Regions from separate parts of the Homo sapiens genome. Here regions 2, 3, 4, 5, 6 and 7 are each linked to region 1. The links are contacts of gene promoters, found by promoter capture Hi-C in blood cells and fetal thymus (Javierre and others, 2016). All regions are on one chromosome and are shown on one strand. The core of a region is centred on a gene start or on the middle of the fragment in contact, and the rest is flanking DNA. Distances in the headings are between cores, read along the strand shown.

The links. The method cuts DNA at HindIII sites, captures the fragments that hold promoters and counts their contacts. A CHiCAGO score of 5 or more calls a contact.
Region 2: a contact is called between a fragment that was not itself captured here and the fragment with the promoter of MYCBP2 in region 1, in 1 of 17 cell types (naive CD8 T cells). The highest score is 5.3, in naive CD8 T cells.
Region 3: a contact is called between a fragment that was not itself captured here and the fragment with the promoter of MYCBP2 in region 1, in 7 of 17 cell types (naive CD8 T cells, naive CD4 T cells, naive B cells and 4 more). The highest score is 10.3, in naive CD8 T cells.
Region 4: a contact is called between a fragment that was not itself captured here and the fragment with the promoter of MYCBP2 in region 1, in 7 of 17 cell types (naive CD8 T cells, naive B cells, total CD8 T cells and 4 more). The highest score is 12.0, in naive CD8 T cells.
Region 5: a fragment that was not itself captured here is called in contact with the fragment with the promoter of MYCBP2 in region 1 in 2 of 17 cell types (total CD8 T cells and naive CD8 T cells); the score reaches 6.0 in total CD8 T cells.
Region 6: a fragment that was not itself captured here is called in contact with the fragment with the promoter of MYCBP2 in region 1 in 10 of 17 cell types (fetal thymus, non-activated CD4 T cells, naive B cells and 7 more); the score reaches 9.2 in fetal thymus.
Region 7: a contact is called between a fragment that was not itself captured here and the fragment with the promoter of MYCBP2 in region 1, in 1 of 17 cell types (naive B cells). The highest score is 5.1, in naive B cells.

Annotation. Positions count from the first base shown.
Region 1 is chr13:77,325,442-77,328,713 of GRCh38, reverse strand. MYCBP2 (MYC binding protein 2) reads left to right here and starts at 1,620. Exons shown (of 83, transcript NM_015057.5): 1 at 1,620-2,240. The coding sequence starts at 1,939. LOC127898562 reads left to right here and starts at 1,726. Exons shown (of 1, transcript NM_001414702.1): 1 at 1,726-1,809. The coding sequence starts at 1,726. The coding sequence ends at 1,809. It overlaps LOC107984564 (a long non-coding RNA gene), which reads right to left and starts at 1,669. Exons shown (of 2, transcript XR_001749930.2): 1 at 1,579-1,669; 2 at 516-1,450. RefSeq lists enhancers at 1,141-1,470, 3,141-3,272 and silencers at 1,661-2,040, 2,081-2,200. The HindIII fragment of the contact is 13,146 bases long and covers 416-3,272 here.
Region 2 is chr13:77,756,268-77,759,539 of GRCh38, reverse strand. All of the region lies in intron 5 of SLAIN1 (SLAIN motif family member 1), which reads right to left. Among named protein-coding and RNA genes, the nearest start is that of MIR3665, 60 kb to the right of the region's middle. The HindIII fragment of the contact is 1,018 bases long and covers 1,126-2,143 here.
Region 3 is chr13:77,739,488-77,742,759 of GRCh38, reverse strand. The region is part of intron 2 of SLAIN1 (SLAIN motif family member 1); the gene reads right to left. Among named protein-coding and RNA genes, the nearest start is that of MIR3665, 43 kb to the right of the region's middle. The HindIII fragment of the contact is 1,116 bases long and covers 693-1,808 here.
Region 4 is chr13:77,716,409-77,719,680 of GRCh38, reverse strand. It overlaps SLAIN1 (SLAIN motif family member 1), which reads right to left. Exons shown (of 7, transcript NM_001242868.2): 2 at 10-149. Among named protein-coding and RNA genes, the nearest start is that of MIR3665, 20 kb to the right of the region's middle. The HindIII fragment of the contact is 1,066 bases long and covers 1,005-2,070 here.
Region 5 is chr13:77,685,692-77,688,963 of GRCh38, reverse strand. No RefSeq gene overlaps it. Among named protein-coding and RNA genes, the nearest start is that of SLAIN1, 10 kb to the left of the region's middle. The HindIII fragment of the contact is 1,288 bases long and covers 1,000-2,287 here.
Region 6 is chr13:77,040,545-77,043,816 of GRCh38, reverse strand. No RefSeq gene overlaps it. Among named protein-coding and RNA genes, the nearest start is that of FBXL3, 15 kb to the right of the region's middle. The HindIII fragment of the contact is 234 bases long and covers 1,667-1,900 here.
Region 7 is chr13:77,585,851-77,589,122 of GRCh38, reverse strand. All of the region lies in intron 9 of SCEL (sciellin), which reads right to left. Among named protein-coding and RNA genes, the nearest start is that of SCEL-AS1, 19 kb to the left of the region's middle. The HindIII fragment of the contact is 2,438 bases long and covers 351-2,788 here.

The DNA of each region.
Region 1 (3,272 bases), core at 371-2,870:
CTGCTAGGTCTTGCAATAGTAATGGGCCCTCTCATTGCTTACCTGTCAGGCCTTAGAATTCTTAGAATTTAGCTGCCTCTACACCATTGTCTTGGTTCTCACTCCAGGGTTAGGGGCTGCCTGGTCAACACTGAGGTCTTTAACTGTGCTGAAGCATTAGGATAGAAATTTAGTCTAATAAATACTTACTGGATACCTACTACATGCAAAGTCCTGAAGTGGCTGAAGGAGACACAAAAGCAGCAAGCTCTGAAGGAACTTAGGTAAGGAAACAAGACAAATACAAAAACTTAACAGGGCTAATTACAGTACTAAAATACTATGATTCCACATGTCTTGTCCTTTGTTCCTATGTTTATCCCACTGCTAATTATCTTTAAAAAAACTAAATGAAATCCATCCATTATTTAAAGCTTCAGAAAAAAATGCATTGCTTTCAGCAACCTTCCACCCTAAAACTAGAATTAATTTACTTTCCTATTCCTTGTTGTTTGCACTTCTCAAACACTAAGGAGGATTTTTTAACATTTATTTTATTTTTTTTTAAGAGAAGGCCATCCGAAGAAGAGGCACAGATATAAGAACTAGTACATAGATGAAAGATACAGTACTGGGATGACAGAACTTATAAATTATTTTGTCAGGACTGTAAATTAGGAAACTCTTCAAATTGAGAGTCAAAGGATAAAACGTAGTAGGAATCAAAGTGCATTGGCACGTATATTTCTAGAGCATATACTTAGATGGGGTTCGTAGGTTAGCTTGGAACAAAGGACTGAGCAAATGTTACTTTTTTATAGACAACAACAAGATATGTGATGGATCTGACATTTTCAGACGCTATACAGTCTCCGTCACAATTATTGTTTCAGATCGCATTCAAGAATTATCTTTAAAAATGTAAGTTTGGGCAGAAAAAAATAAACCATTAAATGACCACTGCCAAGAGATAAAAGTGCACTCTTAGGTGAGTGAGGAGTCAATAAAAAAGAGTAATTTAAAAAATATTATTGCTCCGTTGAGAACAAGAATTTGGGAATGACTCTGGCTTGTGAATACTAGCCTATCTGTTATACTTTCACACACAAAATACTTTCACACACAAAAAAGAATGTGCTAGATTACTACCTGTCTTTGTAAGTAAAAGCTGTGTTAAACAAGCGTAAATCCTAATGACAAAAACCATATAAAATAAGATCGCTAAAGGCACTTCTAATTGGGATGGTTTTCTCTGCCTTAAACTCTGAATTAACCAGCACAATTCACAGTAAATCTTCCTGTTGGCAGCAGAGCCTTGGAGAAGAGGTAGCAGAAGAGCGTGCCACTCCTCCTCTGGCGATGGGCACGTTCCCCCTTGCTTTCTGGTCCTCGTTCTTCCACCTGGAGGGAACCTGAAGTCGAACGTCAGTAGCTGACAGCCTCCCCAGCACTTTCCTTACTCTTCTTCAAGCTGCCAGTAAAACCCGGAGAAGTGGACTACTTCAGATTCCGCACAACCCAACAGCCCCAAACCCAAAGCCCCGAGGCGGAGGGAGTGGTGGCGGAGAGGGGGTGGGGAGGAAAAGGGGCGGCAGTTACTGAGCATGTGCGAGGAGTGGCGCATGCTCTGTGAGGCCGGCAGCTTCCCATTGCGGGTAGCCCCGGCGGTGGTGGCGGTGGTAGCGGTGGTGGCGGCGGCAGTGGCGGCACCGCCTCCTCCTCACATTCCCGGGGTGGCGGGGTTAGATGAGCGGCCCCAGTAGCGGCGAGGGCGGCGCGGGGGGGAGGAGGAGAAGAAGGAGGAGGAGAAGGAGGTCGCTGTCTTTGTAGTCTCCCTGCTGCGGGAGCCAGAGGCCGCCGCCGGAGCCGTCGTCGTTGGAAAAGGGCTGTGTGTGCGCGCGCGTGTCTGCCCGCCCGGCCCGCGGGGACGAGGCGGCGGCGGCGGCGGCGGCGGCGAGGATGATGATGTGCGCAGCGACTGCCTCCCCCGCCGCCGCCTCCTCGGGGCTCGGCGGGGACGGATTCTACCCAGCCGCCACCTTCTCTTCCTCCCCGGCGCCGGGGGCGCTGTTCATGCCGGTTCCCGACGGCTCCGTGGCTGCTGCGGGGCTGGGGCTGGGGCTACCCGCCGCGGACTCCCGGGGTCACTACCAGCTGCTGCTGTCAGGCCGGGCCCTGGCCGACCGCTACCGGAGGATTTATACCGCTGCGCTCAATGACAGGGACCAGGGGGGCGGCAGCGCTGGACACCCAGCCTCCAGGTGCGTCCCCAGGGTGCCCTTCCTTGCGCCCCATGCCGCCCTTCCTTGCGCCCCATGCCGCGCGTGCACCCGCGTGTGTGTGTGCTTGCGTGTGTGTACCTGCGCATTTATTGAGCTTTCAGTCCGCTCTGGATGTCTGTTGGCAGGAGCACTTATCGAGATAGGAGGGTGCGGTGGCTGCAGTTTCTCGTGTGTGTGTGTGTGTGTGTGTGTGTGTGTGTGTGTGTGTGTGTCTGCCTGCCTATGTGGGGGGATAGTGAGGGGTGGTAGGGGAACCTGTGATGCTGGAAAAGGCGATGGTGCTGGTCGGCTGTGACACGTGTGTGTATCGTTGAGGTAGGAGGTGGCATGGGTAGAGAGGGTAAGAGGATGATACACGAAGAGAATTGCAACAGTGGCAAGGGAAGTGGCGTTTTCAGTGTCTCTGCCGCAATGTTATTTGCACGTGCCGCCTCTCCCATGACATTCCTTCCAGCCCTTTCCACCTCCCTTCAATCTGCCTTTCACCAAGAGGAGTCATGGTATAGATTGGTTGAGTTTTGGATAAGCAGGCCCGAGGGATAGGCGTGAGGTTTGCTTTAAAAAGATTTATGAATAAGGGACGCAGATGGAGATCTGTGTGGATGCGAAAGGTGTCTGATAGAGATTTTTAGAGCTGTACTTTGATAACCGGGCCTTTTGGTCTTCTAGAAATGAGGTTGCAGTTACTCTTGTGATCTGATGTCCCATCGGCCATTTCTCTTCATCCTCTGTTCGATTTCCTCTGTTACTTACAGGCTTTAGAGTAGAGAGGGTTTTGTAGGGAAAAGGGGAAAACTGCAGAACTTCAGAATATGACAGCTGGTACAGCGTTCAACTGCCACTAGCTAGAAAATCTGAATAGCGCGTAGATTTGTCTCTTTTACTTGGGTTGGCTACACCTTCAGCTTCCTTGATGTAGATGTTCAGTTGGTTTCATTTTCTTTTTCTTAAAATGTGGGTGCTTTTTTTTGCTGAGGGCTCTCCTATTGTTTTCTTTTCCATGCCCTTACA
Region 2 (3,272 bases), core at 385-2,884, 430 kb before region 1:
AAAGCATTCCCCCTGAGAAATGGAACAAAACGTCCTTCACAACAATGTCCACTTTCACCATTTCTAGTCAACATAACACAGGAAGTCCTAGCCAGAGTACTTATAGAAGAGAAAGAAATAAAGGGCATCCAAATTGGAAAAGAGGATGTCAAACTGTCACTGTTTACCAATAATATGATTAGATACCTAGAAAACCCTGAAGATTCATCCAAAAAGCTCCTAGATCTGATAAATGGATTCAGTAAAGTCTCAGGATACAAAATCAATGTACACAAATCAGTAGCACTGCTGTATACCAACAACAACCAAGCTGAAAATTAAATCAGGAACTCAATCCCTTTTACAACATCTATAAAAAATAAAATAAAATACTTAGAAATATACTTAACCAAGGAGGTGAAAAATCTTACAAGGAAAACTACAAAACACTGTTGAAAGAAATCACAAATGACACAAACAAAACACATCCCATGCTCATGAAATGGAAGAATCAATACTGTGAAAATGACCATACTGCCCAAAGCAATCTACAGATTCAATGCAATTCTATCAAAATACCATCATCATTCTTCACAGAACTAGAAAAAACAATCCAAACAATCCTAAAATTCATATGGAACCAAAAAACGGCCCACATAGCCAAAGCAAGACTAAGCAAAAAGAACAAGTCTAGAGGTACCACATTAACTGACTTCAAATTATACTACAAGGCTATAGTTACCAAAACAGCATGGTACTGCTATAAAAATAGGCATATCGACCAATTGAACAGAATAGAGAACCCAGAAATAAACCCTAATACTTACAGCCAACTGATCTTCAATAAAGCATACAAAAACATAAATTGGGGAAAGGACACCCTATTCAGTAAATGGTGCTGGGAAAACTGGCAAGCCACATGTAGAAGAATGAAACTGAATACCTACCTCTCACCTTATACAAAAATCAACTCAAAATGGATCAAAGACTTAAATATAAGACCTGAAGCCATAAAAATTCTAGAAGATAATATTGGAAAAATTATTCTGGACATTGGCTTAGACAAAGAAATCATGACTAAAATCCCAAAAGCAAAGGCAACTCAAACAAAAATAAATAAATGGGACCTAATTAAACTACAAAGCTTCTGCACACCAAAATAAATAATCAGTGAGTAAACAGATAACTCAGAGTAGAAAAAAATATCTGCAAACTATGCATCTGATAAAGGACTAATAGCTAGAATCTACAAGGAACTCAAATAAATCAACAAGAAAAAAAACAACTAATCCCATCAAAAAGTGGGCAAAGAGCATGAATTGACATTTCTCAAAAAAAGATACACAGCCAACAGACAAATGAAAAAATGTTCAACATCACTAATCATTAGGGAAATGCAAATTAAAACCACAATGAGATACCACCTTACCCTGCAAGAATGGCCATAATTAAAAAGTCAAAAACAATAGATTCGGTGTGGATGTGGCAAAAAGGGAACACTTTTACACTGCTGGTGGGAGTGTAAATTAGTAGACCCACTATGGAAAACAGTATGAAGATTCCTTAAAGAACTAAAAGTAGAATTACCATTTGATCCAGCAATCCCACTACTGGGTATCTACCCAAAGGAAAAGATGTCATTATTTGAAAAAAAGACACATTCATACGCATGTTTATAGCAACAGCATTTGCAATGGCTTAGATATAGAACCAACCTAAGTGCCCATCAACCAACGGGTGGATAAAGAACTGTGGTATATATACACCAAGGAATACTACTCACCCATAAAAAGAAACAAATTAATATTTTGCAGCAACTTTGATGGAACCAGAGGCCATTATTCTAAGTGAAATAACTCAGGAGTGGAAAAGTAAATATCGTATGTTCTCTCATGTAAGTGGGAGCTTAGCTATGAGGATGTAAAGGCATAAGAATGAGATAATGGACTCTGGGGACTTGTGGGGAAGTCTGGGAGGGTGGTGAGGGATAAAAACTACATATTGGGTACAGTGTACACTGCTTCGGTAACAGGTGCACCAAAATCTCAGAAATCACCACTAAATAACTTATCCATGTAACCAAAAACCAGCTATACCCCAAAAACTATTGAAATAAGAAAAAAAAAAAGAAATGTTGATACATGTGTATAGTAGTCAAAAAGCTTTATAAAAATAAAGTCTATGTAAGATCCTCCCTTAGGTGTGTTCCCATTTAGCTTTGTGACACAGCAAAGTCCTCTTGGTTGACGAATCATCTCTAAGATTCTTTCTAATCAATTCTGTAATGCCTTAATTTGCTAGTTTTTAACCATGCAAATATTTAATATACTAGTTCAGCAACTGTAACAAGTCTACTGCACTAACACAAGATGTTAATAATAGGGGAAACTAGGAAGATACAGAGGGTGAGGGATTACATGGGAATTCTTTGTACTTCCTGTTCAATTTTTCTATAAACTGAAAACTGCTCCAAAAAAGTGTTAATTTTTTAAAAACCTTCAACACATGAATTTGGCTCAATTTCTTCTGAAGCATAATATACATAAAATACATACATCTTAAGTCTACAGCTCAGTGAATTTTCAAAGTGCATATGTTCATGTAACCACTAATCATATCAAGATAAAAAGCATCACCAGCACCTTACAATGCTCTCTCATGCCTCTTCCTAGTCAAAACTCCCCCAAAGGTAAGTGTTATTCCCACTTTTATCACAACAGACTGTTTTTCCCTATTTTGAGCTTCCTAGGAATAGACTTATTAGTATGTTAACCTTTTAATCTGGCTTCTTTCACTCGACACTTTGTCTGTGAGATTCACCTGTGTTGCTGTATTACTAAGCAGTATTCCATTGTATAAATGTGATTATTCCCCTGATGACAGAAAGCTAGGTTATTTCTAATTTGGGGTTTTATGAACCTCCTTGAACATGTTTTGGTGATCATATGCACTCATTATGTTGGGTAACTATTAGGAGATATTAATTTAGCAAAGTTGCTGGATTCAATATCAAAACACAAAAATCAATTATATTCAAAATACCAGCAAACTAGTAGAAACTGAAAGAAACCTGAGGAAATACTATTTATAAAAATACTACTTATTAAAAATCACAATACCTAGAAATTAATTTAACTATAGAAACATAAAACCTCTATATAGAAAGCTACAAAACTTCACTGATATTAAAGACCTGAGTCAATGGAGGACTATTACATATTAATGGATGCAAAGACTTAATATTGTTAAGATCTTCCAAAAATTGATCTGCAGAGTCAATGAAATGCCAACCA
Region 3 (3,272 bases), core at 1-2,500, 410 kb before region 1:
TAATGAAAATTTATTTTGAGTTTCTACGTTAGAAATGTTTTCAATTTTCTATTTCCACATAAGGATTTAGTGTTTTGCAATATAAAAAAGGATTAGTGTCAAAAGAAAAACTCAAGTTTATAATCTTCCTAATCTTTAGGAATTAAGGGAAATGTTCTTAATATTAACTATATGTAATTCTATATTTTTTCTACTCAGTTAATATCAGAAAATGTTGATAAAAAACATTTTATGTAAATTCAGTATTGGATTATGGGAGGACTTAGAATGACTATTGTGTTTCCAAATGGCCTTGAGACCAAAACAAGGTTTAAAGGAAAAACAGTGTACAGAGTAACAGAGGGGTGTCTATACCAGAGCTTAACAATGACTATCCGGTACAGAGACTATTGGTGATCACTCGGATTTTTTCTTTAAAAAAAACTTCCAAATTATCTGCATTAAACATACATATTATTTATATAACTAGCTTTTCAAGGTAGGAATATACATGTTATTACTTTAATATTATTTTTTAAATTAATATAATGAACAAAAAGGAATTACACCAGCCATGGGCAGATGATCTCATTCTTACATTACCTCACTTGTCTAATTAATGTACTTCTCCCCTCCAAAATTACCACCCCTTGTATCTCCATGTTCTTGGGGTCACACACACACACACACACAAATCCCAAATCATAAAAGCTTAAGTCACACCAAACATGATTTACTCTCCTCTCATGAGATACAAATCAATGCGCTAAGCAAAATTCACTTTTCTGAAAAGTAATCATTTAGACATGTACTAAGCAGAAGGAATAATATAAAAAATATAAACAAGGCTAAACTTCAAGAAATAACTTGGTTTGTATTCACTGGGAATTTGACAAAACTTGAAAAACCAAGTATTAAAAGGACTGCTTTGAAATGCATGCCCCCAGACCACTTTTAATGAGCAATGCTAATGAGCAATCAGACAGCTGAAAAGTGCTTTAAAATGGGCAGTGGGATGGAGAGAAAAAAAAAAAACTGTGGGATGTGGACAGTCAAGAAAATAATCAGCTCCAAACTGGGATTCTTCAGATCCTTGCAAAACACCAAGTTTACTTAAAAAAAAAAAAAAAAAAATTCCTTTTACTTCAGAATCATTACGTACCAACACATTCTAACAATTACATTAAAAATATCTTTTCCTTAAGTATGTGGAAGAACTAGGCAAGGAAACCACATTCGCAATGACAACACTTTCAGAATCCACACATTTCATGAAACTGTGAAGCCTGGTTGCCAATTGACACCAGTCGTATATGTCACTTATCCAACCCGTAACTTACAGTGGTTAAGCAGCTTTTCCCAATCGGAGCCAGAACACAGACATGCACTTCCAGTTCCTTCTCTTCTATGTAGGTCAACTTGACTCCAGAATACACTACAAACTAGGGGTTAATAATGCAACACACACTAGGTAGCTGTTCTCACATGTTCAATCTCTATTATTCAAAGTTTCTCATTAAAAATTCTATATTTTAAAAGACCAATAGTTCTTTGTGACTGCTATCTTGCCTAACAGATGATGTTATTTTATACCAGTCTGATCACTTGCCAGGCAAATTACAGTAACTGCGTGTTCTCACCCACAGATGCGGGCGGCAGCACATCACAAGTAAGCAGCATTCATCACTCTGCACAATAACCACTGTGACCCAGCCTCCCTGCACAATTGACACAGTTATTGTGGCTATGACAGCAAGATCCCAACTAGGAACACAATTAGCGTCTATTGCAAGAAAGAATGCTCTACATTGTTGTTTAGCATTGAAGCTTTTCAGAAAGGGGAGGAAAATTATTGTAAAGGCAGGCTAACAAAACAATAATGCTCCACTAGTGCCCAAGGTTACAGTGGAGGAGGAGGAGGACAGGAGTGGAAGCTATCACATCCTAGTTGTTCTTCAGTACATAGCTAAAGAATTGTAACAGGAAGCACTTTTATAAAGAATAAAACAAACAAAAAGAACTTGTAAAAAAGAGCAATTTTATCTTTTTCAACCAATTATCTCAGTGGATTTTTGGTATATAAAATGATGTGAAATGATTCAAGAGGCTCAGTGATGACCGAAATAGCTCTAAAGAAAGGAGTGAGGCAATTTTGCCAAAAGAGAAAAAATGGGTGATCCATTTTTGAACAACAGTTAAATTTCCCTATACTCCTACTCCAGAGTTCTATTTATAAAAAAAGGGGGGGGGGGCGGTTCGCAAACTTGGAAGTGGCATAGACTATGCATTTTTTCATTTTATTCCAATCCCTAGAATAGCATCGAACTGGCCCCAAACAGGACTACACACTGAATCAATGTACGATACTTGGCACAGTTTTCTTTCCCAAATGCCTTAAGCTAAACTGCCTCCCAGGACACTTCTTTCTGCATAATCTCTGTAGTTCTACCGCAACTTCCTTAACCACTCACCACCTCTCACCAGATTACTGCAACCTGCTCTTCAACAAACTTCCAGCCACCAACACTGCCCTGAGCAAACCTGTTCTGAATGTCATGTATTTTAACTGTGTTACTCTCATCAATTAAAGTACCGCAGGGGCTTTTCATCAAATGCAAGACCTTAAAGGTACTTCAGCTCATTTCACTACCACCCTTACAGACTGTCATTTATCTCATGCCCACCTCTACAGTGTCTCTGAAGCTACCCTAAGGATGCACCCTTATTGGTTAAACTTTATACTTCACCTCCCTTGTCTGACAATCATCTTCTACTGAATGAATGTGATAAAGTACTAAATTGTAGACTGATACCTCATTTTTTTTCAAAAATATAAGTTGAGGGTGACTAACGGTCTCTTATTTTTTGTACATTTTCAAAGTTGCTTGACTGAAAAGATAAGTTATAACACATCTGTGTAGTTATTTTTGTATACCATTAAGCAAAGTATGACCAAAAAAACTAGATTCGATAAATGCTCCCGTGATAAAATCAAGAAAATCATAAAAAGGCAGACGACAGAATGGGTTTAAGGAACAACCTAAGTTTCTTTAATTTGTCACACTGAAAATTATTCTGTGACCAACAAAAAGTTCCCAGAAACAATGACATTCCTACCATTGCTTGATCATCTTTGCTTAGACTCAAAGTATTCAAATTGTTGTTAAATAGACATGTCTCTACACATAATCAAAATCAAATTTAAGAAAGCAATTACTTAATTCACATAAAAGAAAAAACTGATTTAATATCTTAGAAGACTCAAAAGGTCGGTAGTGCATTAAACTAAAGAG
Region 4 (3,272 bases), core at 288-2,787, 390 kb before region 1:
CACAATTACCTTGCTCCAGTCTAAAGCACAGGGAACGTCTCGCTGCTTCCATCTCAGGAGTTGGGTTATCTAGGACATGTCTACACCACTGCAAAGGAGTCAGGGATTTCTCTGATGAGGTGAACGTCTTTGAAGAGCCAATGTATAACCTTAAAAAAAGAAATCTACATTATAGGTATGATATAGGTATACAGAGAGTACCTCTCTCTGGGGAAAGCAACATGTATTTAACAATTTCCATAGAAACAGAACTCATATTTGATGACTTCAAAGTATCAGAAATAGTTTTTAACAGGCAAATATCCCCAAATAGAATATGACACTTCCTGTAGCCTGGTGAGAACTTCCAAAAAAAGGTCTAACAATTTTCCCCCTAACTGTGTGTTTCAGCATCAGAGATCAAGGGCTTTTTTTTTTTTTTTAACTAAACTAGCCCTAAAAAGGCACTATCATGATCTTACTATCTCTATTGACATGTCAAGAAATGAACATTTTCATCTTTCTCTTTGGCAACAGAATCTTTTGTAAACTTGGGCTAATGAAGGTAAACATGATGTGACAAACAAGGCAAATCTTATGTGTATTTTTTAAAAATAAGTCTAAACACCCGTAAAAGCCAGTCACTTGATTCTTTGAACCCTTACATAATCACATATTTCTCCTGTCTCAAATCTATACTAACCTTGGTATATGTTTCTTTTTCATTAAAGCCAAACAAAGAGCTTTAAAAGATATGTTTTACGAAGACTTCACTTTCAGCACCTACACAATTACACAGTAATGGATAGTATTCAAAATGACTACCCGGAGGCACTGCAAGTTATAAAAAAGCTTCTCTCATTAATATGCCATGTTAAGGTAGATTTTAGAATATTTTCAGTGATAGGGCTATACAGAAAGGTTTATCTTGAGGAATAAACAGCAGTTAACTAAAAAAGGGGGGAGGGTGAATTACCTCCCCAAAACTGCTGGCTCTAATACGTGACACCTTACTACTATAAGCTTACATTAATTACAAATCTAAAGTAATCTTCTTTCCAACAAAGCTACCACAATTCTAATAAGCACATATTCTTGAAATAACATACTTCATTATTCATACTTTCACTGTTCTAGACAAAACGTTCACCTATTAGAGTAATTTATCAGTTATACAAGATGGTTGGGGAATGTACTATTCTTCAGTAAATTATTCTTACAGATCAGGGATTGCCAAATGTTTTCTGTAAAGGACCGGCAAGTAAATATTTCAGGCTTTGTAAGCCACATGATCTCTGTCACAACTACTCAGCCCTGCCATTCCAGTCCAAAGGCATCCTAGACAATATGTAAGCGAATAAACGTGGCTGTGTTCCTTTAAAATTGATTTATAGACATTGAAAGTTGAATTTCCCATAGTTTTCACATTCTTTGTATTTTTTTTCATCATTTAAAAACATAAAACCGTATCTTACCCACCATACAAAACATGCAACGGCTCTGATTTGCCCTTGAGACAGTTTGTTCACTCCAGTTACAGGTAAGGACTCTAAAATATAGATCTCAATGGATTTAATTGTAAGTCCAATATATTTTTTTTTTTCCTTAGAGTGTGTTGCACAGTTGTGACTCCATCAAGAGTATATATAGTTAAAAATCATATTCTTGGGCCCCAGCTCAGTCCTACTATGGCAAGATTATCACCTACCTATGTAGGTAATAATCCCTTCCACTTCCTTGCAACATAGCCTAAACTGCCCAGTACACGGTACTTCTCCCTACTCACAAGTATAGGTTAGTCCAGGCTAGTTATTCTCAATGTCTCATGCCTCAAAATTACTTAAACATCTTGTTAAGACAAATTGCTAAACCACACCCCTTAAAAGTTTGATGCATAGGGTCAAAGAATCTGGATTTCTAAGCAGCTTCCAGGTGATGCTAATATTACCGGTCTGGAGACCACATCTTGAGAGGCACTCAGCTAAGCCAATCATGGTATTTTCATTGTTCCCCTTTGCCTGACTGGTTTAGGCCCACGCCCCAGACACAATCCTAGCCAACAGAAACTGAGAGAAAATCATCTGATAAGCTTGCGGACAAGTTTTTCCTTAAAGGGAGGTGGAAGTGTCACAAAAGACTCAATTATATGCTTCCTACAGGAAACGCACCTTAAACATGGGCAAACAAATAAGTTAAAAGTAAATAGCCAGAAAAGTAATCAAAAAATAAAAAATAAAAAACTACCCACAAAGAAAAACCTGGGCCCAGAAGACTTTACTGCTAAACTCTACCAAGTATTTAAAGAAAACATCAGTTCTTCACAAACTCTTCCGAAAAACAGAAGAGGAGGGAATACATCCTAATACATCCTATTAGGGCAGTGTTACCTTGACACCAAAATCAGACATTACAAATTAAGAAACTAACGGCCAATATCACACATGAACACAGATGTAAAAAGTCTAAATATTTCAGTAAATTGAGTCTAACTTCACCATTAGCATATTTCACCATTAATAAGTGGGGTTTATATCAGAAATAAAAAGTTGGTACAAATTCAAACATCAATATAACTTATCAGATTAACTAAAATAGAAAAAGTATATAATATCAATAGAAAAAAAAGGCATTTGACATCCACTCCTGATAAAAATTCTCATCAAATCGGAAACAGAAAGAAACATCCTCAACCTGATTGAAGGCATCTACAAAAACAGCATAGTTAATGGTAAAAGGCTGAATGCTTTGCCTGTGATATCAAACAGACACAGACATTGGCTCTCATCGCTTCTATTTAACACTCTGCTGAAGATCCTAGCCAATGCAATCAGGCATTACATTAAAAACATTTACATTGGAAAGAAACAAGTAAATCTGTCTTTATTCACAGATGACATGATCATCTATGTAAAAAAAATCTGAAGAATCTACAAAAATGATAATAGCATAAGTGAGTTTAGTAGCAAGATTGTAAGATACCAGATTGATGTAGGAAAGTCAATTGTATACTTATATATATTAACAACAAACGAATTCATATTTTTAAAATTTCACTTTTCATTTACTATAGCATTTTTTAAAAAACCATCAGATGCTTAAGGATAAATCTGACAAAAGATGTGTAGGACCTGAACACTGAAGACTACAAAACATTCTGAGAATTAAAGAGGACATAACTGGAGAGATATGCCATTTTCGTGAGTAAGAAAACTAAATATTAAGATGTCAATTCTCCTTAAATTGGTCCACATAATTTGCAAAATCCCAATAGAAATTCCAGCAAGCTTTTTTGT
Region 5 (3,272 bases), core at 394-2,893, 360 kb before region 1:
TATACATTTTCTTTTTTATGGGTGTACATTTAATGAGCACAAGTGCAGTTTTGTTACATGCGTATATTTGTTTAGTGGTGATGTCTTGGCTTTTAGTGTATCCATCACACCAATAATGTACATTGTACCCATTAAGCAATTTTTCATCATCCTACCCCTTTTGGCCTCCTACTCTTCTGAGTCTCTACTTTCTATCATTCCACACTCTATGTCCATGTGTACACGTTATTTAGCTCCCACTTATAAGTGAGAACATACAGTATCTGACTTTCTGTTTCTGAGTTGCTTCACTTAAGATAATGGCCTCCAGTTCCATCCATGTTGCAACAGAAGATATGATTTCATTCCTTTTTATGACTAAATACTATTTCATTGTATATATATATACCACATTTTAATTCAGTCTGTTGATGATGGACACTCAGGTTGATTCCATATATTTACTAGTGTGAATAGTACTGCAATAAACATGGGAGTGTTGGTATCTTTTTCATATAATGATTTCTTTCCTTTCAGTAGATACCTAGTAGGATTGCTGGACTGAATGGTAGTTCTATTTTTAATTCTCTGAGAAGTCTCCATAATGTTTTCTGTACAGATTTTACTAATTTACTTTCCACCAACTTTGTATAAGCATTCTGTTTTCTCTACATCCTTGCTGACATCTTTTATTTTTGACTTTTTAATGATAACCATTCTGATTGATGTAAGATAGTATCTCATTGTGATTTTAATTGGTATTTTTTTGATGATTAGTGATGTTAAGCATTTTTTTCATATGCTTATTGGTCATTTCTATGTCTTCTTTGGAAAATTGTCTATTCTCATCCTCTGTCCACTTTTTAATGGGGTTATTTTTATTGTTGTTGTTGAGTTTTTTGGGTTCCTTGTAAATTCTGGATAACAGTCCCCTGTTGGATGCATAATTTGCAAATATTTCCTCCCATTCTACAGGTTGTCTGTTCACTTGTTGAATATTTATTTTGCTGTGCAGAAGCTTTTAGTTTAATTAACTCGAGTTTGCCTATTTTTGCTTTAGTTACTTGTACTTCTTAGGTCTTAGTCATAAATTATTTGCCGAGACCAATGTCCAGAAGACTCTTTCCTTGGTTTTCTTCTAGTATTTTTATAATTTCAGGTCTTACATTGGAACCTTTGATCCATCTTGAGTTTGTTTTTGTATATAGTGAGAGATAGGGGTCCAGTTTCATTCTTCTGCATATAGCAATCCAATTTTCCCAGGACTATTTATCAAAAAGGCTATCTTTTCCCAGTGTGTATTCTTGTCAACTTTGTCAAAGATTAGCTGGCTCTAGATATGTGCATTTATTTCTAGGTTCTTGATTCTGTTCCATTGATCTATATGTTTGTTTTTATACCTGTACCATGCCATTTTGATTACTGTAACAATGTAGTATAATTTGAGTCAGGTATGTGATGCCTCCAGCTTTGTTCTTTTTGCTCAGGATTGCTTTGATTTTATTCAAGCTCTTTTTTGGTTCTATATGAATGTTAGGATATCTTTTCCTAATTCTGTGAAAAATGATGATATTTTAACAGGGATTGCATTGAATCTGTAGATTGCTCTCTGCAGTATGGATATTTTAACAATATTAATTCTTCCAATCTATGAGCATGGGATGTTTCTCCATTTGCTTGTGTCATCCACAATTTCTTTCATCAGTAGATTCCCTTGTAGAGATCAATTGCCTCCTTGGTTAAATATATTCCTTTTTTTTTGTAGTTATTCAAAATGGAATTGCTCATTTGGTTTCTCAGCTTGATCATTATTGGTGTGTAGAAATGCTACTCATTATTGGTGTGTAGAAATGTGTATAGAGTTTTGTACATTGACTTTTTATCCTGAAATTTTACTGAATTCATTTATCAAATCTAAGAGTTTTTTGGTAAAGTCTTAAGGTTTCTTAGATATAAGATTATATCATCAGAGAAAAGAGATAACTTCACTTCCTCTTTTCTTATTTGAATGCCTTTTATTTATTTCTCTTGCCTGATTGCTCTGGCTCAGACTTCTAGTACTATGTTAAATAGGAGTGGTAAAAGTGGGCATGCTTGTCTTGTTATAGTTCTTAGGGGTAATGCTTTCAACTTTTCCCTATTGATTATGATGTTAGCTGTGGGTTTGTCATATATGGCCTTTATTATTTTGAGGAGTGTTCCTTCTATGCCTAGTTTGTTGAGGGTTTTTAGTCATGAAATTTGGTGTCAAAATGATACCAAATTTTATCAAATGCTTTTTCTGCACCTATTGAGGTGATCATAAGCTTTTTGTCCTTAATTCTGTTTATGGGATGAATCACATTTATTGATTTGTGTATGTTGAACCATTCTTGCATCCCTAGAATAAGCCCTTTCTGACCATGGTGTATTGTCTTTTGATGTACTGTTGGATTCAGTTAGCTAGTATTTTGCTGAGGATTTTTGCATCTGTGTTCATCAGGGATATTGGTCTATAGTTTTCTTTTTCTGTTATATCCTTCTCTGGCTTTGGCGTCAGGATGATACTGGCTTCATAGAATGAGTTAGGGAGTTTAGTGCTATAAATTTCCCTCTACACACTGCTTTGAATGCGTCCCAGAGATTCTGGTATGTTGTGTCTTTGTTCTTGTTGGTTTCAAAGAACATCTTTATTTCTGCCTTCATTTCATTATGTACCCAGTAGTCATTCAGGAGCAGGTTGTTCAGTTTCCATGTAGTTGAGCGGTTTTGAGTGAGATTCTTAATCCTGAGATCTAGTTTGATTGCACTGTGGTCTGAGAGATAGTTTGTTATAATTTCTGTTCTTTTACATTTGCTGAGGAGAGCTTTACTTCCAAGTATGTGGTCAATTTTGGAATAGGTGTGATGTGGTGCTGAAAAAAATGTATATTCTGTTGATTTGGGGTGGAGAGTTCTGTAGATGTCTATTAGGTCCGCTTGGTGCAGAGCTGAGTTCAATTCCTGGGTATCCTTGTTGACTTTCTATCTCGTTGATCTGTCTAATGTCGACAGTGGGGTGTTAAAGTCTCCCACTATTAATGTGTGGGAGTCTAAGTCTCTTTGTAGGTCACTCAGGACTTGCTTTATGAATCTGGGTGCTCCTGTATTGGGTGCATATATATTTAGGATAGTTAGCTCTTCTTGTTGAATTGATCCCTTTACCATTATGTAATGGCCTTCTTTGTCTCTTTTGATCTTTGTTGGTTTAAAGTCTGTTTTATCAGAGACTAGGATTGCAACCCCTGCCTTTTTTTGTTTTCCATTTGCTTGGT
Region 6 (3,272 bases), core at 534-3,033, 290 kb after region 1:
CTCCTGCCTCAGCCTCCCAAGGAGCTGGGACTACAGGCGTGTGCCACCTCACCCAGCTAATTTTTGTATTTTTAGTAGGGATGGGGTTTCACCAGGCTGGTCTTGAACTCCTGACCTCAGGTGATCCGCTCGCCTCCGGCCTCCCAAAATTCCGGTATTACAGGCGTGAGCCACCGCGCCTGGCCAAGACTAGCAAAAGTTTTAATCACATTTTGTTCTAAATTCCAACTGTGGGAAATATAGAACTTAATTTGTCAATATAGAATTACTGACAAATTTAATGACATTTGTGTTAAGCATTTATGAGAAATTTAAAACAATCTTTGCCTTGAAGGAACTTAAAAAATAAAGATCAGATCTGAGCACAGGTAACTATTTTACAGAATGTTCTAATAAGTTTCATAAAAATATCCAAGCCAAATGCTTCAGGATTTAGGAAAAATCATTATTGTTTTGTCGTTGGGAGTGTAGCTAAGAGGCCATTTAAGCTGCCTTTTGAAGAATAAGTAGCATTTCAAGGAGCAGAGATGTGGAGAAAGGCATGAGAAATACCTAAGTAGGAAAATCTAGAATATGATCAAAGAACAGTAAGTATGAGTGTTCAAGCTTAGGATTGACTGAAAATGTTTCCAGAAAACACAAAGTACGTAGAGAGACTAAAGCTGTTACAAGAAAACTGGAGGGGAGAATGCAGTGAGGACACTGTCAGTATATTTGACTTGACACTGTCAGTATATTTGACTTAAATTCACAGGCCACAGGAATGAAACTAACCTTGAGAATGCCACACAGATAAGAGACTTTATGGACACTTAATAGCTGCGAAGAATACCATCTTGCGTCAGTTAACTTTGCTGGCAAACTGGTCAGCTCAGTTTGTAAATCGTAGAGGAAAAGAAACAAACTATTGAGATGGCTTGGCTAAAAAAGCCATCTCAAGTTATGAAAGGGATAAAATCAACAAAGCTGTGTAGTGAATACTCACAATGACTTCAACTTATCTTCATTTATGAGGAAGTCACTTTTAGTCAGGATCTCTAGCACCTCAAAACCAGAGAACATAAACATCTTAGCAATAAATTATGACAAAGCACAGGAAGGAGTGGCTTTGGCAGGCATTTTTAGCTCAAGCATCCTACACACAAGGACCATCCTTCAAACACTGCATGTAACATCCAAGGCAGGAGACAGAAAGCAGAATCACAGTGGTAGATGTCAGTGAATCTTCCTGGAAAGAAATTGTTTTTCCGTTATATTTTCAAGCCTAGGAAAAGCCATTTTTCTTAGTATTATGGCTAGACTGTTTAGGCCTAAAATCTCCCTATTTTATCAATAAGCTTATTTGGTTTTGGTTTTTGGTTTTTTGAGTTTTTTGGGTTTTTTTTTTTTTTTTTAAGAAAGGGTCTCACTCTGTCGCCCCAGCTGGAGTGCAGTGGCGTTATCTCGGCTCGCAGCAACCTCTGCCTTTTGGGCTCAAGTGATCCTCCCACCTCAGCCCCAAGTAGCTGGGAGTACAGGCACGAGCCACCATGCCCAGCTAATTTTTGTAATTGAAACAGGGTTTCACCATGTTGGCCAGGCTGGTCTCAAACTCCTGAGCTGAAGCGATCTACCTGCCTCAGCTAGGATTACAGGTGTGAGCCACCGCACCCAACCTCAATAAGCTTATTTGATAAAATATATGCAATGCTCCCTTTATTCACTTTTCATTCAGAATGTTTAGTAATTTGTATTGTTTTTCAGATTTTCAGCCCAATATATCTCCCTGCCCACTGTGTCACTGTATTCTACCTATACATCATCACGTGTTTCTGCTATTGGCTGTATGATGGAACACTGCGGCTCATTTTCCTGAAAACTGCCGATAGTGCATAGAGTGCTGGGATGGAAACCAGAAGCTTTGAATTCAAGCCTTGGTTCTGCCTTGTTTTTGCTTGGGTGGCCTTGAGTCAGCCACATACCTTTTAAAATCTCAATTTATTAGAAATTATTCCAAATCAAAATCAAATGAGAAGGTATATACAAAAGTGCTTTATCCCACAATAAACTATTCAAGAGAGAGCAAAGGAGAGGACATTTACTCAACACCTCCTAAAAGGCAGCCAGTGAAATTAGGCATTTTATTTAATCCTCCTGGCAACTCTGAGAGTAAAGCATTATTAATCCCATTTTGGCTGTTTAAAGAAATTATTTGCACTAGATTCCAGCTGTAGTTTAGCTTCAGAAAAAAAAATCCTGAGATGTGAATTCACAGCTTTCTGGGTTTAAAGCCCAAGCTCTATCACATCATGCTATTATTGTTACATTACTGCTAGTTCTATGAAAAGAAATACTAATTTATGAAATACATCTTATCCAAAATGGTTGGGACCAGAAGTGTTTCTGATTTCGGGTTTTTTCAGGTTTGGGAATATTTGCATTACCAGTTGAGCATCCCAAATCTGAAATCCAAAATGCTCCAGTGAGCATTTTATTTGGGTATCAGGCATGTCAGTACTCAAAGTTTTAAATTTCAGGACACTTATCGTATGGCCAAGGTTGCACAGGGGACAAGACAGCATATGCCTCCAAGAGTGTTCAGTGTCGTCAGGAGGTACCTCCACCCAGATTTCCCTTCAGGGGAGGCCCCACCTCAAGGAGTCCAGTTAGCTGACAGCCTCCAGCTTTAATCACCCCCACATATGACCCAATGTCACACTCCTCCAGGGCAGCCCCAGCCTGTGATAGAGTTCAGATGGGGTTCTCGGGCCTGGCCATTTCTGCCCAAGCGGCACTCCTGCGTGCGCGGTCTTGCGTAAGAACTCAGGCCGACTGAGACTGTCTTACAGCTGCCCTGCAGTCGGAGGCTTTTCCTACCCAATCTTTCCTTCTCTCTTCTTTCCTAGATGCCAGACCTGCATCACAGTCTAATGGCTCTCCCTGCCCACTCCTGCTCCCTCATCACTTTATCTTTCATAGGGATTACCCCCAACAGATTTTCTGCACTTCTAACTTAATCTTGGCATCTGCTTCCTAGAGGACCTGCCTGACACAGGAGGGTAATACATTTTAAATGACTTACTTATGGCTTCATTTCTCAAATGTCTTAGGGTGGCTTAGAAAAAAATAACAAGACTACAAAAAGATATACGCTGGAGGGAGTTACAGTGAAGAAAAATTATGAAAGAAAAAGCCAAGGTTAAAGATTAGTGTCTCGCTGTAACCATACAATGTTATCAAATTGCTCAAGAAAAGGCCATCAATTTTACAGTAAGTTTCTCCAGTAACAAGCA
Region 7 (3,272 bases), core at 320-2,819, 260 kb before region 1:
TTCATTTCACCATGGAAACATGGTAAATTTTAGCATCTATTAACTGAATGCATTTATTGCCTACATAAAAATATCCTTTGCATCTTACAACCCCCATGTGTGAGGTACCTGAAAGGTCAGAATCCATGGAGCACTAAACTTTAAAGAAGTCAAATATTGAAAATATGTGTATTTTTAAAGTTTATTTAATCAGGTTCTTGAAAACCCAATCCTCTTTCACTATAGTTTGGACTATACTATGTTCTTTAAATAACTCAATATTTTGCTAGTATATCTAGCTCTAGTCATGGCATTTCAGGTCAGCAGTGCATGAGAACTGTAAATGGTCCTTGGGTATTAATATATAAGCTTCTTTGGGGATTATGTCAACTATCAGGCTGCTATGGAAACAGCAAGAAAAGGCTTTAATTTCAGAGACCTCAAGGTAGCATTGATTTGAAGCTCTTAACTAAATCTGACTTAAATATTGTCAGCACAGGCCACTTTGATGCTGACAAAGCATATATACAATCTACCGTCAGCCTAAACTTTCCAATGAAGCACCACAGCAGTCTCTGAGTTGGCAGGACTTAATGAGGTAGGAACTGGAGATGGGCAATTATGTGCACATTTTGGATGGAGTCAGCACCTTACTAAGAGTATGTCACTCCCCTGTGTTCCCCACCACTACCACCCCAGCAGTTCTCTATTTGTCCTCAACATAAACTCTGTACCTGGTAAAAGAACCCTCTGATCCTGTGTACCCTTCTGGCTTCTGTAGCAATGGTAGATAGGCATGTGGGCTAGAGTCAGGCTGCCTGAATTGCCAGCTGTGTGGTAACAGGTTAACTTGATTCTGTTTCTTCATCTGTAATAATCTTTCTAATAGGATTGTTGGGGTATTGTCAGGACTGAATGAGATTGTGTTTTTACTCAACAAACATTTATTGGTAGCTTTCTATGTGCAAGGAAGGCTCTCTGTGAGCTGGGTAATGTCCTTGTTCTCAAAGGCTTTCAATATACAAATAAATATATGTCAGAAGAAGAAAAGTGCTGTGCAAATAATAATAATAATAAAACAGAATAAGGAGATATAGACTGATGGAATGGGAAGATTATTTTATTTAGAATGGACTGGGAAGGTCTCTCTGTCAGGTGAAATTTGAACCAAGACCTGCAGGAAGTAATAGAGTAAGCCATGAGGCTATCTGGAGAAAAAGCATATAAATACAGCCATCATTAGCTTAGAGATGGTATTTAATGCTTTAAACTGGCAGAGATCACTAAGGGAGTCAGTGTAAGTAGAGACAAAAAGAGGGCCAGGGGTTGGACCTTCAGGCCCTGCAATATTTAGAGGTCAAGAATATGAGATGAAAACAGCAAAAGAATCAGGAGGAGTGGCCAAGAAGGAAACAAGAGTAATAGAAGGGCGTGGCATCCCAGAAGCCAAGCGAGAAAAGTTTCAAGGAAAGAGTACTTGGCCATTTCAGATGCTACTGTTAATCAAATAAAAACAAGGACTGGGAAATTACCATGGTTTGGCCAACAGAGTGGTCTTTGGTCACCCTGATAAGAGCAGTTTTGATGGAACGATGGTGGGAAAAGAAAAAAAAATCATACGAGTGGATTTAGGAAAAAATGGGGAAGCAAGGAGATAGAGGCATTGAGGCAGTTTGGCAGTAAAGTAGGAAGACAGAAATGGGTAGCTACTTCGAGGCTGATGGATCGAGGAAGGTTACTACAGCATGTAGGTATGATGATGGGAATGATCCAGTGAATCATTGATGCAGGAGAGAGAGGGGGAAATCACTAGACAGATGACTTTGAGAATTGATGGGACCTAAGGCACAGGGTGGTGGTTGATCTTAGATGGAAGTACAGAGGGCTCATTCACAGCAGCAAGAGGGAAAGAACTAGATGAGTATAGCTGGGGTACGTTCATTGACTCAGAGTGAGGAAGGTTCTCTTTTGTTTACTTCTATTTTCTCAGTAAAATAACAATCAAGATCATTGATTCAAAGTGAGGAGGTTGAGTAGGGATTAGGACTGTGTGAGAAAGAAAGAGGCGGAGAAAATGTGTGAAATGGTTTTCTAGGCAAGCAGAAGAGTAAGTGGACCCAGGAAACGTAGTAAGATGGTGATGATGATGATGTACTATTATATGGGGTCATTATGTGCCAGAAACTTTTCTAAGCACTTTACATATATTAACTAATGAAATCCTCACTGCAATCCCAGACATAAGTATTATTCTTCTTCCCATTTTACAGATTAAAACACTGAAGCACAGAACATAAAGATAAATATCTCATGATGATGCAGCTCATAAGGGGCAGAGCTGGGAATCTGAAAGGGAAAGTCTGGCTGCATAAACCCTCCAAATGCTGTGCTGTCTCTTGAAGGATCCTTGGGCCATACCAATGGCTCAGTTGAGGTTAGTACTCATGGGCTTAAAATCAGGTTATTTGGCATTGTTTCCTCTTGCCATATTCAACTGGTTGGGGAGGAGGAACAGAATAGACTGAGAGTTGGATTTACCATTAGCCACGTTTACAATTCAGCCAAGTGAGTGCAACAAAGAGAATGATGGCAAGGGAGTGGAAGGGGTCTTCAAGGAAGGGGTTACAATGGGGGCTGTGGAGTTTGAGATGGGCATGGAGGGAAATGAGAATATGAGTAGTGGGGACTGTGAAAAAACTGGTAGAATTAATGGACTGGTGATTGTGATGGGGCTGAGGAATTCCTGGAATCAAAGGACTGAAGGGAGTGAGCTGGACAGAGAGAAAGCGGGAGCCAGAGAGGGAAAGCTTTGAAGTAGAAGTCTTGTAATTTTGTAGGGTATGTGGTTATTTACAGGGCAAGATCTATCAATGGCTGCAGTAGTGGGAAGAACAAGATCATCGGGGAGAAGGTCACAAAGGTGAGTGGTCGGGGAGGGGAAGGATCCTCTGCATGGATTTTGAAATCACCAAGCATTATGACAAGAGGAGGGTTTGGGAAAGACAGTGAGCGTGGTGCTGAAGTCTTCAAAGAATGAGTGTGAGTGTCTCAGAGACCTTCAGATGACTCCAACAAAGATGAGAAGCTCACAAGGGCATGGCTTCAAAGGAGATGGAGAGTTTCAGGGAGGAGGGAGTTAAAATTAACAGCAGGTGGTGATGAGAAGCAAACAAGACCCCTACCTTCATCCGGACCCTGTGATATGTCAGTTTAGAGGGAAAACAGCCCTTATTGAGAGACAGGCTGTGGAAGCAGGGTCCTCTGGAAGAGCACAACAAAAAGGTGGGAGATCA